2 separate regions of the Homo sapiens genome follow, and region 2 is linked to region 1. Evidence: promoter capture Hi-C in human tissues and cell types (Jung and others, 2019). All regions are on one chromosome and are shown on one strand. The core of a region is centred on a gene start or on the middle of the fragment in contact, and the rest is flanking DNA. Distances in the headings are between cores, read along the strand shown.

What was found. Contacts are between HindIII fragments. The study calls those that stand out against the background at their distance.
Region 2: a contact is called between a fragment that was not itself captured here and the fragment with the promoter of MEX3D in region 1, in 3 of the 25 tissues and cell types used here (IMR-90 fibroblasts, liver and lymphoblastoid cells).

What each region holds. Positions count from the first base shown.
Region 1 is chr19:1,565,548-1,571,848 of GRCh38, reverse strand. It overlaps MEX3D (mex-3 RNA binding family member D), which reads left to right and starts at 3,524. Exons shown (of 2, transcript NM_203304.4): 1 at 3,524-4,385. The coding sequence starts at 3,791. It also overlaps the pseudogene RN7SL477P. RefSeq lists silencers at 3,245-3,294, 3,335-3,524. The HindIII fragment of the contact is 18,806 bases long and covers 1-6,301 here.
Region 2 is chr19:1,770,992-1,777,292 of GRCh38, reverse strand. It overlaps ONECUT3 (one cut homeobox 3), which reads right to left. Exons shown (of 2, transcript NM_001080488.2): 2 at 1-2,140. The coding sequence ends at 1,848. It overlaps LOC101928543 (a long non-coding RNA gene), which reads left to right and starts at 2,943. Exons shown (of 5, transcript XR_007067085.1): 1 at 2,943-3,035; 2 at 3,126-3,257; 3 at 3,566-3,659; 4 at 3,753-3,850. The HindIII fragment of the contact is 5,328 bases long and covers 1-4,171 here.

The DNA.
Region 1 (6,301 bases), core at 2,275-4,774:
GACTCTGGGCCCAGGGGCCACGTTTGTGGGCATCTGGGCTGTCACAACCAAGGAGGTATATTATGGGTTGAATCATGTCCGCACAAAGATGTCTGTGTCCTCAACCCCACAACTTCTGAATGGGACCTTGTTTGGAAAGAGGGTCTCTGCAGACAAGTTAAGCCAAAGTTGTACGGGAGGGGGTGGACTCTCATCCCGTGACTCCTGTTCCCATGAGAAGAGGGAAACCAGGACACATACAGGGAGACATGGGTGTGTGAAGACAGAGGCCGAGGTCAGAGCGATGCGGCCACAATGAGCGATGAGGCCACAATGAGCGATGAGGCCACAATGAGCGATGAGGCCCAGAGCCCCCAGAAGATGGAAGAGGCAGAAAGGACGCTCCCCAGAGCCTTTGAAGGGGGCGCGGCCCTGCGCACACCTTGAGTTTTGACTCTGAGGCTCCAAAACTGGGAAAGAATTAAATATTCATTGCTTCATTCATTCATAAATTCATTTGTTTATTAGACACAGGGTTTTTTCTTTGTTTGTTTGTTTGTTTTTGAGACAGAGTCTTGCTCTGTTGCCCAGGCTGGAGTGCAGTGGTGTGATCTCAACTTGCTGCAACCTCCACCTCCCGGGTTCAAGCGATTCTCCTGCCTCAGCCTCCCAAGCAGCTGGCACTACAGGCTCACGCCACCACACCCGGCTCATTTCATATTTTTAGTAGAGACAGGGTTTCACCGTGTTGGCCAGGTTGATATAGAACTCCTAACCTAAGGTGATCTACCTGCCTTGGACTTCCAAAGTGCTGGGAAGACAGGCGTGAGCCACCGCGCCCGGCGCCCGGCTGACAATGCCATTAATAATTGCAAGTGGCTGGGCATAGTGTTACCCACCTGTAGTCCCAGCAGTTTGGGAGGCTGAGGCAGGAGGATTGCTTGAGGTTAGGAGTTCAAGACTAGCCCGGGCAACAAAAAGGACCCTGTCTCTACAAATACAAAAAGTAGCCCGGTGTGGTGGTGCACACCTGTGGTCCCAGCTACTCAGGAGGCTGAGGCGGGAGGATTGCTTGAGCTCGGGAGTTCTGAGCTGTAGTGAGCTATGCTGATCCAGCGTCTACATTAATATGATGACCTCCCTGGACTGGGAGGACCACCAGGTTGCCTAAGGAGGGCTGAACCTACCCAAGTCAGAGACGGAGCTGGTCAAAGCTCTCATGCTGATCTGTCCTGGGGTCACACCTGTGAATAGCCACTGCACCCCAGCCTGGGCAACAGAGCAAGACTCTGTCCGAAAAAGAAAGAAAAGGAAAGGAGAGGAGAGGGGAGGGGAGCAGAGAAGGAAGGGAGAATCCTGGTTGATACGGTGAAACCCTGTCTCTACAAAAAATACAAAAAATTAGCTGGGTGTGGCGTCAGGCACCTGTAGTCCCAGCCACTCGGGAGGCTGAGACAGGAGAATGGCGTGAACCCAGAGGCGGAGCTTGCAGTGAGCCAAGACTGCACCACTGCACTCCAACCTGGGTGACAGAGCGAGACTCCGTCTAAAAAAAAAAAAAGAAAGAAAGAAGGAAGGAAGGAAGGAAGGGAGAGAAAAGAAGAAATGAAGAACGAAATAAAGGATGAAAGAAAAGGAAGGAAGCAAGGAAGGAAGGAGAAGAAAGAAAAGAAAGAAGGAAAGAAAGACAGAAAAAAGAAAAGGAAGAGAAAGAAAAAAAGGAAAGAAAGAAAAGGAAAAGAAAAAAGAGAAAGAAAGGAAAGAGAAAGAAAGAAAAAGAAAAGAAAGAAAGGAAGAAAGAAAGAAAAAAAGGAAAGAAAGAGAAAAAAAGAAAGAGAGAAAGAAAGAGAGATAGAAAAACAATTCCAAGCATGGGCGTGCACGAAAGAGAAGTCCAGGACCCCAGGAGGGGAAGTGGGGCTGGATGCAGCCTGGGGTCAGGAGAGAGATTTTGGGTGGGGAAGGGCTCCAGGCAGGGGGATCCTGACCCTGCCTGCCTGGAAGAAGTGGGCAGAGAAGCCACCAAAAGTGAAGGGCCCAGCAGTGGGTGGCTGTGGCTGAGGGACTAGAAGAGTGGCTGAGGGGGACCCAGGGTGTGTGAGGCGGGGGGAGGGGACAGAGGAGAAGCCTTGCTAGGCAAAGGGGCAGGCTGCCCCACTCCTGCCCAGAGAGCCCTGCCTTCGGTCCAAGTTTGCACAGCCAGCCAGGGACAGGTCTGGTAGAAGAGGGGGGCAGGTAGACCCAGCCAGACAGGTTTATCACAAAAAACCCCACAGGTGCAAGGAAGGCCCCGAAGGACAGCTGGAGGAAGAGCCGCTGGGAAAGCGGCTATTTTTTTTTTTTTTTTTTTTTTTTGAGAGGAGTCTTGCTCTGTCAACCAGGCTGGAGTGCAGTGGTGCAATCTCGACTCACTGCAACCACCACCTCCAGGGTTCAAGCAATTATCCTGCCTCAGCTTCCTGAGTAGCTGGGATTACAGGTGCGCGCCACCACGCCTGGCTAATTTTTGTATTTTTAGTAGAGTCGGGGGTTTCACCATGTTGGCCAGGCTGGTCTCTAACTCCTGACCTCGTGATCCACCCGCCTCGGCCTCCCAAACTGCTGGGATGACAGGCATGAGCCACCGCGCCCGGCAAGGGTGGCTTTAGAGGTGGACAACGCCCGTTGCGGGGAAAGGCACCCCAGAAGAGGGTGGGGCTCCACATGGAGGGTTCTGGCTGGTGTGAGCCTGCCCTCGCCATGGAAGCACCACTGTGGTAGAGAGGTCTCTGGCTGGGGGCACAGAGACCGGGTCTGTGGCCTTGGGTGGGGCGGAGGAGGTGGCGTGGAGGAGGTGGCCTGATCCCAAAGCCGGGAGCCAGCCAGAGGGGAGCTAGGAGAGACTAGGGGAGAGGGACCTCAGGCCCTGGGGTGTGCATGATTGTGGAGCTGTCCCTGGCACAGAGGCTGGGGGTGGGGCAGGGGCCTGACCCTAAAGCCCACCTGATAGCAAGGGGTACTTGGGGACTGGGACCCCAGGCCCTGGGGGGTGCACCGTGGGGCGGGGGTTGGACCCTGGCACAGAGGCGGTGGGCGGGCAGGAGCCTGACTTCGAAGTCCAGTGGGATCGCGAGGGGGACTTGGAGAGGACCCCACGCCTTTATGCAGGGAGGTGGGGGTCCCTGGCACAAGGAAGCGGGCGTGGAGCAAGAGACCTCGCTTGGGGGCGACCCGGATCTCTAGGGGAAATTGGGGAGCGGGACCTCGGGCCCTGGGGCGCGCGAGGCAGGGACTCTCAGGCTTGGGGAGGGAGCGCTGTCCAGGCAGGGGCTGAGCCGCACACACCTGCAGCAGCGCCCGCACGTGCGGATGCGCCCGGGTTCCCGCCCGAGCGCCGGGCGGAGGCGGGGCCTGGACCACGTGCCCGGCGCCGGCCCCGCCCCGGCCCCGCCCCGCGCGCCTGCGCCCTGGGGGCCGCCCATTGTTGGGCCGCGGCGTGACGTCGCGGGGGCGGGGCCGGGGCGGGGCCGCGGGAGGCGGCGGGAGGGAAGGAGCGTCCCGCGCCGCCGCCGCCGCCTCGGCCGCCGAGGAGCCGCCGCCGCCGTCGCCGCCGCCGCCGAGCCGCAGCCAGAGTCGCTGCCGCCGCCCGGCCCGGCCCGGCCCGGCCCCGAGCAGCCCCGCGCCGCCGCCGCCCCGCCCGCCCGGCCCCCCGTGCCCGCCCCCGCCGCTGGATGCAGGCGGCCGGCGGCCCAGCTCGCAGAGGCGGAGGGCGGCGCGGGCGGCGGCGGCGGCGCGGGCGGCAGGAGCGCGGGCCCCAGCGCTAGCTCCCGCCATGCCCAGCTCGCTCGGCCAGCCCGACGGCGGCGGGGGCGGGGGCGGCGGCGGCGGCGGCGTGGGGGCGGCGGGGGAGGACCCCGGACCCGGACCTGCGCCCCCGCCCGAGGGCGCCCAGGAGGCCGCGCCCGCGCCCCGGCCGCCGCCCGAACCCGACGACGCGGCCGCCGCGCTCCGCCTGGCGCTGGACCAGCTGTCGGCGCTCGGGCTGGGGGGCGCTGGCGACACGGACGAGGAGGGGGCGGCCGGGGACGGCGCAGCGGCGGCGGGGGGCGCGGACGGCGGGGCGGCTCCGGAGCCTGTGCCCCCCGACGGACCTGAGGCCGGCGCGCCCCCGACCCTGGCCCCCGCCGTGGCCCCCGGGTCGCTGCCGCTGCTGGACCCCAACGCGAGTCCCCCGCCGCCGCCGCCGCCCCGGCCGTCGCCCCCCGACGTGTTCGCGGGCTTCGCGCCCCACCCCGCGGCCCTGGGGCCCCCGACGCTGCTGGCCGACCAGATGAGCGTGATCGGCAGCCGCAAGAAAAGCGTCAACATGACCGAGTGCGTCCCGGTGCCCAGCTCCGAGCACGTCGCCGAGATCGTGGGTCGCCAGGGTGAGTGGCCCTCGTCGGGGGTTGCTGTCCTGGGGGTCCCCGCACCGTCCGCCCCGGGGAAGGGGGTCGCCCGAGCCCAGCCCAGCCCGCGCCGGACGCCCCGCACCGGACACGCCCCGCGTGGGCTCCGGCCTCGGCCGCTGCCTTTGCGCCTTTGTCCTGCAGCCGCCGCGGGAGAAAGTTGGGCGCAGCCCGCGCTCCTCCCCTGCGCGCTCCGGCCCCGCCGCCGCCTTTGTCTGGGCCGCCTCCAGCCCGGAAAGGCTCCGGGGAGCCGCGCCGCAGCCCAGGCCCTCGGCCGCCCGCAGGGGCACCCCAGAGAGGGGCTCGAGGGCCCGGGGCTCCGGCCGGGCGGGGGGCGCCCCACACCCAGCACAGGCGGCGGGGCGGGGCAAGCGCAGGTTTAGGGGTGGCTTAGGGGGGCCGCCTGCAGGACCGGGAGAGAAGGCTGACAGTACAAAGAGCGCACGTCTCAGTCTCCAGCCTGGGGCCCTGACTGGGGTGGGGACGGGACCGGGCAGGAGAGGGTCCCTGCTCCACTCTCTGGCCCCGAGTCAGGGATTTCGGGGCCTGGGGAAGGACCGGCTGTCAAAGCCACTTCTGGGGTGCAGCCTGCTGGGCAGGCCGGCGGGCGGCAGGCCCCGGGTGTGGGGTCCAGCGGTGGCATCGTCGGAGCTTCCCTCTGGCCGCCCCATTGTTCTCTTTGTTAGAGAGCGAGGCTGAGATTTGCAGGGTGACATCAGGCCGGCCGCTGCTCATTGGCCCCCGAGCTGCGGGGCGGGCGGGCGGGTGGTGGGCAGTGCCTGGCCCAGCTCACACCCACCACCCCGTTAGCCACCCGCCCGCCTGCCTCCCTCAACTTTCTCCTGCCTTCCCGCCACCCCTCCCCGCTCCTGGGTCCCCGCTGACCGCCAGTGATCAGCCAGGTTCTAGAACTTGGGGTGGGGCCTTGGCGGGGCTGGTGGTGGGGCCGCAGGACACTTGGGCTGGGGGTCCCTGCCTCCCCGGGGCCCTCGGGAATCCAGGCCAGAGAAAGGTGTGGGGGGCTGGGATTGCAAGGTCATCTATGGCCCTGGCCTCAGGCGGGGGACCACCAGGGCGCCCTCCCCTCCGCCCTTTCCCTCGGTCCAGGTGGGTGGGGCACCACAGCCTCCTGTCTTTTGGTCGTTCATTTGTCCAGCTCATGTGGGGACCCACGGAGGGTCAGGCATGGTGCTGGCCCCAGGAAGCATGCTCTGGAGTGGTGGGTGGGGAGGGACTGGGTTCTGTCTCAGTCCTGCTGGCTGCCCTTGGTGGGACCCCCTGGCAGGAGGGCGCCCTACCATCCTGTTACTGCCTCCCCATTGAGGCCTTCCACCCGGCCTCCATGTCCCATACCCAGGGCCTAGAACGGGACAGCTGCCCTGTGCGGAGTGTCTGGGAGCCTGTGGAGACAGGCGTCCAAGCCGAGGCCTGGGGACCAAGTGACCAAAGGCACGAGCCTGAGCCTCCAGGTGGTGGAGGCTGTGGCTGTGTTCTTTGTGAACGCGCTTGTCCTGGCACCCAAGGGCCTTTGAGCGAGGCTATGGCCACATGGGGAGCTGGCAGGAATCAGCGTCAGGCTGAGAGCTTCTAGACCTGTGGCCTCAGGGTGGGAATTCTCTAGGGGCAGGTCCATGGGAAATGGAGTCTGTGGGCACCAGGCTCAGCCCCCACCTCTGGCCTGTGCGTTCTGCACCCACTTACTGGGCTCTTGCTGGTGGCCGTCAGCAAGGCAGGCCCTGGGGTACAGTGGGGGTCGGGGGTAGAGTGGGCCCTGATTGCTTGTCCTGCAGGCCGCCGTGGCCCTGCGCAGATGACGGCCCCTCTCTGTGATGTGCGGACGTCTCACCTCCATTAGGGTAGAGGATTCTGGGGCAAGATGCTGGTTTTATTTATTT
Region 2 (6,301 bases), core at 258-2,757, 210 kb before region 1:
GCATGTGTGTCTGTGGGGGGGTAGAGAGGTGCGGTGCTGAGCAGGAATGGGGACCCTTTCTACTATTGGGAACCCCCCAACACCCAAATGTTCTAGAAGCATCACTCAGATCCGGTCGCTTGGAAAGCTGGGAGCAGAGCAAGTCGATAAGGACAAGAGAACACTCCATACACGTCTTTGGTTCAAGAAGAAGGCACTCTTCGACCTCACGATCCTCTCCCTCCCTCTCTCCCTTTCTCTCCCTCTCTCTCCCTCTCTCTCTCTCTCTCTTTCGCTCTCAGGTTCGGGAAGGGGTGGCACTCGGCAGGCGGGGCCCCGAGCCGGGTCCCAGGCCAGGGAATCCTGTCATCCAGCACAAATCCTTGGGAGAAATCTTTGGTATCAGGCGTGATTTTCCAATCACAGACATGAGCTTGAGTGAGGTAGCCTTTACCTGGGGGAGGGGAGGGGCATTTCACTAGAAATGTCTTTTGCATTTTCAAGGGGGGTAGGGGGGCCGCCTCCTCCCTGGGAGGCAGCCGATGAGTGGGGGGATTTCAGGGAGGAGGTTCCTTCTAGACTCGGATCTTGAACCCCCGGAGGAGGCGGGCTCCTGGGATCCCGCGGCCGGCCAGTCTCGGAGGTCACCCAGACCAGATGAGAGGAGCGGGGGAGAGCGCGGGGTGGGAGGGGGGCGCTCATCTTCATTTCCGACCCTTCCCATTTGTAAATATTTTTGGCAAAAAATGGAGCAAGCGGAATCCACCTTCCTCGGCGTCTTCTCTCTTTGGCGAGAGTGGAAACCAACACCACGTTCAACCCCGCTGCCCCCCTGCAAGCCCAGTTCAGACCCTGACGCGGGCGGAAAGGGGGGCGGTGGATTCCAGAAGGTTCCACGCAGGAAGCGTCTCCACGGGCCCGTGCAGAGGGGCTCCTCCGGGCGGCCCCAGCGGCGCCTTCTCCGGCCGGGTCCCCTTCTCCTGGGAGCCTGGGCGTGGTCTCCCGTGTCCGGAGCTGCGTCCTTCCTTGCGCTCCACGAAGGTGCCTAAAGGTAAAGTGAACTCAACAGACGGGGCGGGGCGGGGGCGTCTGGAATTTACCCGCACGTGGGAGCCCCCCGTCCCCTGCGGCCTGGGATGGGGTGGGAAGGGTGCTCGCCCGTAGGTGCTGGGCGCCCGCCGCAGGCCCCTCCCCAGACTTTAAGGCAGGCGATTCTTGGCACGAGGAATCCTGGCCGCAGAGAGGGGCAGCTCAGTTCTCGGCCGCAGGGGCCGTCCTGCCAGCGGGTGGGGTTGGTTTTGGAGAGGGTGGGGGACCGTAAGGATCCGGCTTGATGTGGGTTTTTGGCGACTTTGGAAAGGGCTGAGGTCCCTGGGGAGGGGGCCGGGGCGGGTGGGGAGGAAGGAAGTTTTCTACTACCTCCCTCGGTGGGGCAGGGGATCTGACGGAGGAGGGGTTATTCTTTAAAATTCCATTTTTAAATACCCGGTTTATATTTCTAGTATGTGCTTCTTGACCCGCTTTAGGGGACAACACAGTGAGCCCTGGTTTTTCTCGAGGCCCTCTGGGCGTCCTGAATGGAGAGGGGGCTGGGAAACCCCTTTCTGTCACTCCCTCCCCTCCGGGGGGGGGTGGAGGGCTTCCTTTGGCCTGGAGGGAGTGGGCATGGAGGGAGGAAGGGGGGCCCTTTTTGTGCACTTGGGCTGGGGGGTGTGCTGCTTCCCCCTCCCCGGGTGTGGGGGGCCCGGATAGCACCCCCTCCAGGTGCCCCCTGGGGGCGGGTCTCCGGGCCGGCAGGATGTGGGGAGGTGACGTGGGGGCACAGCGCCCAGGCCGTGGAGGCAGGGAGGGCGCGGGGCCGGGGCGCCTCAGGCCTTGGAGAAAGTGGCCGTGGCGCCGGCGGGGCCCCCGGGGGCCGTGCTGGGCTCCTCAGCCCAGCGGTTCATGCAGCGGCGCCGCGCGTTCATGAAGAAGTTGCTGACGGTGTTGAGCTCCAAGCCGAGCTGCTGCGAGATGGTGACCTGCATCTCCTTGGACGGCCGCTTGTTCTCCTTGAAGATGGCGATCAGCGTGCGTCGCTGCAGGTCGGTGAACACCAGGCGCTGCTTCTTGGGCTGCAGGGCGCGCTCCTTCTGCTGCTCCTGTTCCTTGCGCTTGCAGGCTGCGGGCGAGCGGCGGGCGGGCGGGCGAGCGGGACACAGCGCCACCGTGTGGCCGGCCGGGGAGAGGCAGGAGGCGCACGCCGCCCGGAGGATGAGGAGGAGGGGAGAAGGGACACGTTGGGGAAAGGCGAATGCACATAAGGTCCCAGGGAGAGCCCAGAAGCAACAAGAATGCAGGGAGAGGCGGAGGGGGAGACAGCGGGGAACACAGGGACGCACAGAGACAGAGACAGGGAAACAGCAAGGTCAACAGGGAGACAACAGGAAAGTCCAGGATGCAGCCAGAGGGCGGTGGAGACAGAATGGAAGGCGAGGACAGGCAGGGAAAGCAGATGCGGTGGGGGTGGGGGGAGGACAAAGAAGGGGACACAGTGTGAGTGCCCCTCTGCAGGCATGGCTACCACCCCCTCCAGCCCCCTTCTCCATGGAGCCCACTCAGGCACCCCCCAAGCCTCATACCCCCCAAACCCCGTCCTACCCTCAAACGCTCCCTACCTAAAGGACCACAGAAATTGATATTGGTAACTTTCTCCTCTCCTTTCTGCAGCCCCAACCTGGGGGTGTTGGGGAAATGACATGGAAACTGCACATGAGAGTTTTTGGCTCAGTGTAGACTTGGGTGAAATAACTGGTTAATTACTAGGTCCTGGGGTGCATCACAAAACCCAGCAGCCTTCCCCAGAAATGGTGGGCTAACCAGGGCCTTTCCTTTCTTTCTTTTCTTTTTTTTTTTTGCGGAGGGGAAGTCTTGCTATGTTGCCCAGGCTGGTCTCGAACGCCTGGCCTCAAGTGATCCTCTGGCCTCAGCCTCCCAAAGCACTGGGATTACAGGTGTGTGCCATGGCAACTGGCTGTGACAACCAAGCTCTACGAATGAGCAGCAGCGACACTCCTGTAAGGCCTGATACCCTTAGGGACCCTGTGAGTCCACAGCCCAATTCCGACATCTGAATCCCTGCCTCCTGCTCCTGCCCCTATCCACAGGCTGAGACCACCCAGACTTGGCCTCCCTCGAGCACCCAGTGGACCCTCTGGAGCGCAGAACATCTAAGAAAGAAGACTTTGGAGGAGGAGGGGAGAGTGCAGGGACCACCTCTTCCTCTCCCAGATGAGCAGGTCACCCTTCCTCTTGGTCAGCCCGCACAGATCACGGAGAGGGCTGAAGGAGGCTGCCCCATGGCCTGCAGACCAGACACTTGCAAAGGGGAGAAAAGCAAAGGCTCGGGGTGATGGGGCAGGGCTGAAGCCGAGTCCTGCTCTTCCTGCTCCAGCAGCGAAGTGAACCCCTCCCCTCAATGCAGTGGGTGTCAGTGGGTACAAAACACAGGCTTCCCCCACTAGGAGCTGGGCCACAAGTCAGATGGGCTCATTTGTGGCATCAGCTTGAAACTCCATCAGAATCTCAATTTCTCTCCTGCATCCAGACTGGGACTGTGGTGCTGAAGAGGCTGTCCTGCCCTTGTCTCCATCCCGGAGTTCCAGCTACTCTGTGACCCCCAGAAGTGGCCGGTGGTGCAGGTAGTACTAGTGGGTCTCTGCTCCCAGTCTCTTCTCTGTGCCAGCCGTCGTGGCCTACTGGAATGGCACAGAGAGCTTTTCTTTTCGTTGCAGAACAGCCTGGAACATGACATGCTAGATCAATGTCCATACACGTCCACAGAAATAAATGAATGTTCCTTCTGCCATGACTCATGTCTCGGGGACAACAGGTTCACCCGTCTAGGGTGTGAGCTGACGCACACTTCACTCCCTCTGACCTGGAATGTGTGGGGCTTCTAACTGCGGTTTCAGGTTTTATGATTAAATGCAAGTGATGCCTGTGGGTTACTGCACATTTTAGAAAAGCGTCTAACATGAAAAAGAGAGGGAGAGAGAGAGAGGGAGGGAGGCAGGAGGGGGGAGAACAATGGAGAAAAATGGTTTGGTGGGGGAGGAATAAACTCAGAAGGAACCGACAAGGCAGGCAAAGCTATAATTAATATTCCCAGAGGAGTAAGAGAAAAATATCGTATCCATGAAACAAGTACAGGATGCTGTTAAGTAAAAGGGACCATTAGAGAGTGAGGAAATGCTCTTAAAATGTGAATATATAACAGCCAGAGTAAAATAATTCCATGTAAGGACTGGAAGATAAAGTTAAGCAGATATTGGCCGGGCGCGGTGGCTCACGCCTGTAATCCCAGCACTTTGGGAGGCCGAGGCGGGCGGATCACGAGGTCAGGAGATCAAGACCATCCTGGCTAACACGGTGAAACCCTGTCTCTACTAAAAAAAAAAAAAAAAAAAAAAAATTAGCTGGACGTGGTGGTGCATGCCTGTAATCCCAGCTACTCGGGAGGCTGAGGCAGGAGAATTGCTTGAATCTGGGAGGCAGAAGTTGTGGTGAGCCAAGATCGTGCCATTGCATTTCAGCCTGGGCAACAAGAGTGAAACTCCATCTCAAAAAAAAAAAAAAAAAAAAAAAAGAGTAAAGCAGATATCCCAGAAAATGGAACACAAGCAGCTGCAAAGATGGGAAATGAAAGAGAATAAAAAGTTAGAGGATGAATTAAGATGAAGCAGGGTTGTCACCTGATCAAGAGACAGTTCAAAAATAGAGGAAGAGATGATCAAATAATGAAAAAAAATCTAGCGTTGAAAGATGAGTTTCCAGTTTAAATGTGGTCAGGTGCAGTGGCTCATGCCTGTAATCTCAGCATTTTGGGAGGCTGAGGCAGGAGGAACACTTGAGGCTGGGGGTTCAAGGCTACAGTGAGCATGATCTCACCACTGCACTCCAGCCTGGGTGACAGAGTAAGACTCTCTTTTAAAATAAATAATTTTTAAATATAAATAGGCCCACTGGGCATGGTGGCTCATTCTTGTAATCCCAGCACTTTGGGAGGCCAAGGTAGGTGGATCGCTTGAGGTCAGGAGTTCGAGACCAGCCTGGTCAACATGATGAAACTCTGTCTCCACAAAAAATACAAAAAAAATTAGCTGAGTGTGGTGGCAGGTGCTTGGAATCCCAGCTACTGGGGAGGCTGAGGCAGGAGAGTCGCTTGAACCCAGTAAGCAGAGGTGTGAGCTGAGATCACACCACTCACTCCAGCCTGGGCAACAGAGCGAGACTCCGTCTCAAAAATAAATAAATAAATAAATAAATAAATAAATAAATAAATAATAACTAAATAGGCTGGATGAAGTGGCTCATGCCTCTAATCCCAGCACTTTGGGAGGCTGAGGTGGGAGGATCACTTGAGCCCAAGAGGTTGAGAGCAGCTTGGAGAATATAGTGAGACCCCATTGCTACAAAAAATTTAAAATTAGCCAGGCATGGTGACTCACACCTGTGGTCCCAGTTATTCAGGATGCTGAGGTAGGAGGATCATTTGAGCCCAGAAGGTCAAGGCTGCAGTGAGTTATGATCATGATACTGCACTCCAGCCTGGATGACAGAGCGAGACCCCAGCTCTAAAAAAATGGGGGTGGGACATCAAGTCCTCAGCTCATTGAATGAAAAAGACACTCAAGCCTCGTTGTTGTGAAATTTCAGAGCACCAAGAATAAAGAGAAAATCCTAAAAAGCGCCTAGAGGAAAGCCAGATGTCATGCAAAGGATCAAGAATCCAAGCAGCTTTGGGTGTGCAAAAACTAGCAGACAACAGAGCAAGGCTTTCAAAGTTCCAAGGAAAAGTTATTTTCAGCTAGAATTGCTAAATAACAAAAGACCAAACATGAAGGTGCAATAAAGATATAATCGGATGTTCAAGGACTCCAAAACTTAACTTCCCACATACCCTTTCTCAGAAAGCTACTGGAGGATGTGTTCCATTCAAACGAGGAGGTAAATAAAAAAAGGATGGTGTGGGATTCAGAAAATGTGATCCAACCTAGCTGAAAGAGAAAAGGGGTCCTCCAAATCAGGATGAGGGGGACCCTGGAAGACAGCTAGACAAAAGGACCCAGGGTATGGAGGGCAGCCCCACCCAGATCAGAGATGACCTAATATGTGTGGAAAGTCCTATTGAGTTGGTTTTAAATTTTGTTGGGGAGCGTGGGAAGAATTTTTGTTTGGCAGCTATCAACTCCTGGAAAACCAAAGAGTTGTACAGGAAAGGAAATGCAGTCCTAGTACTCTACATGGCTCAGCTGTGGACAATGTTTTCCAAAAGCGTAAT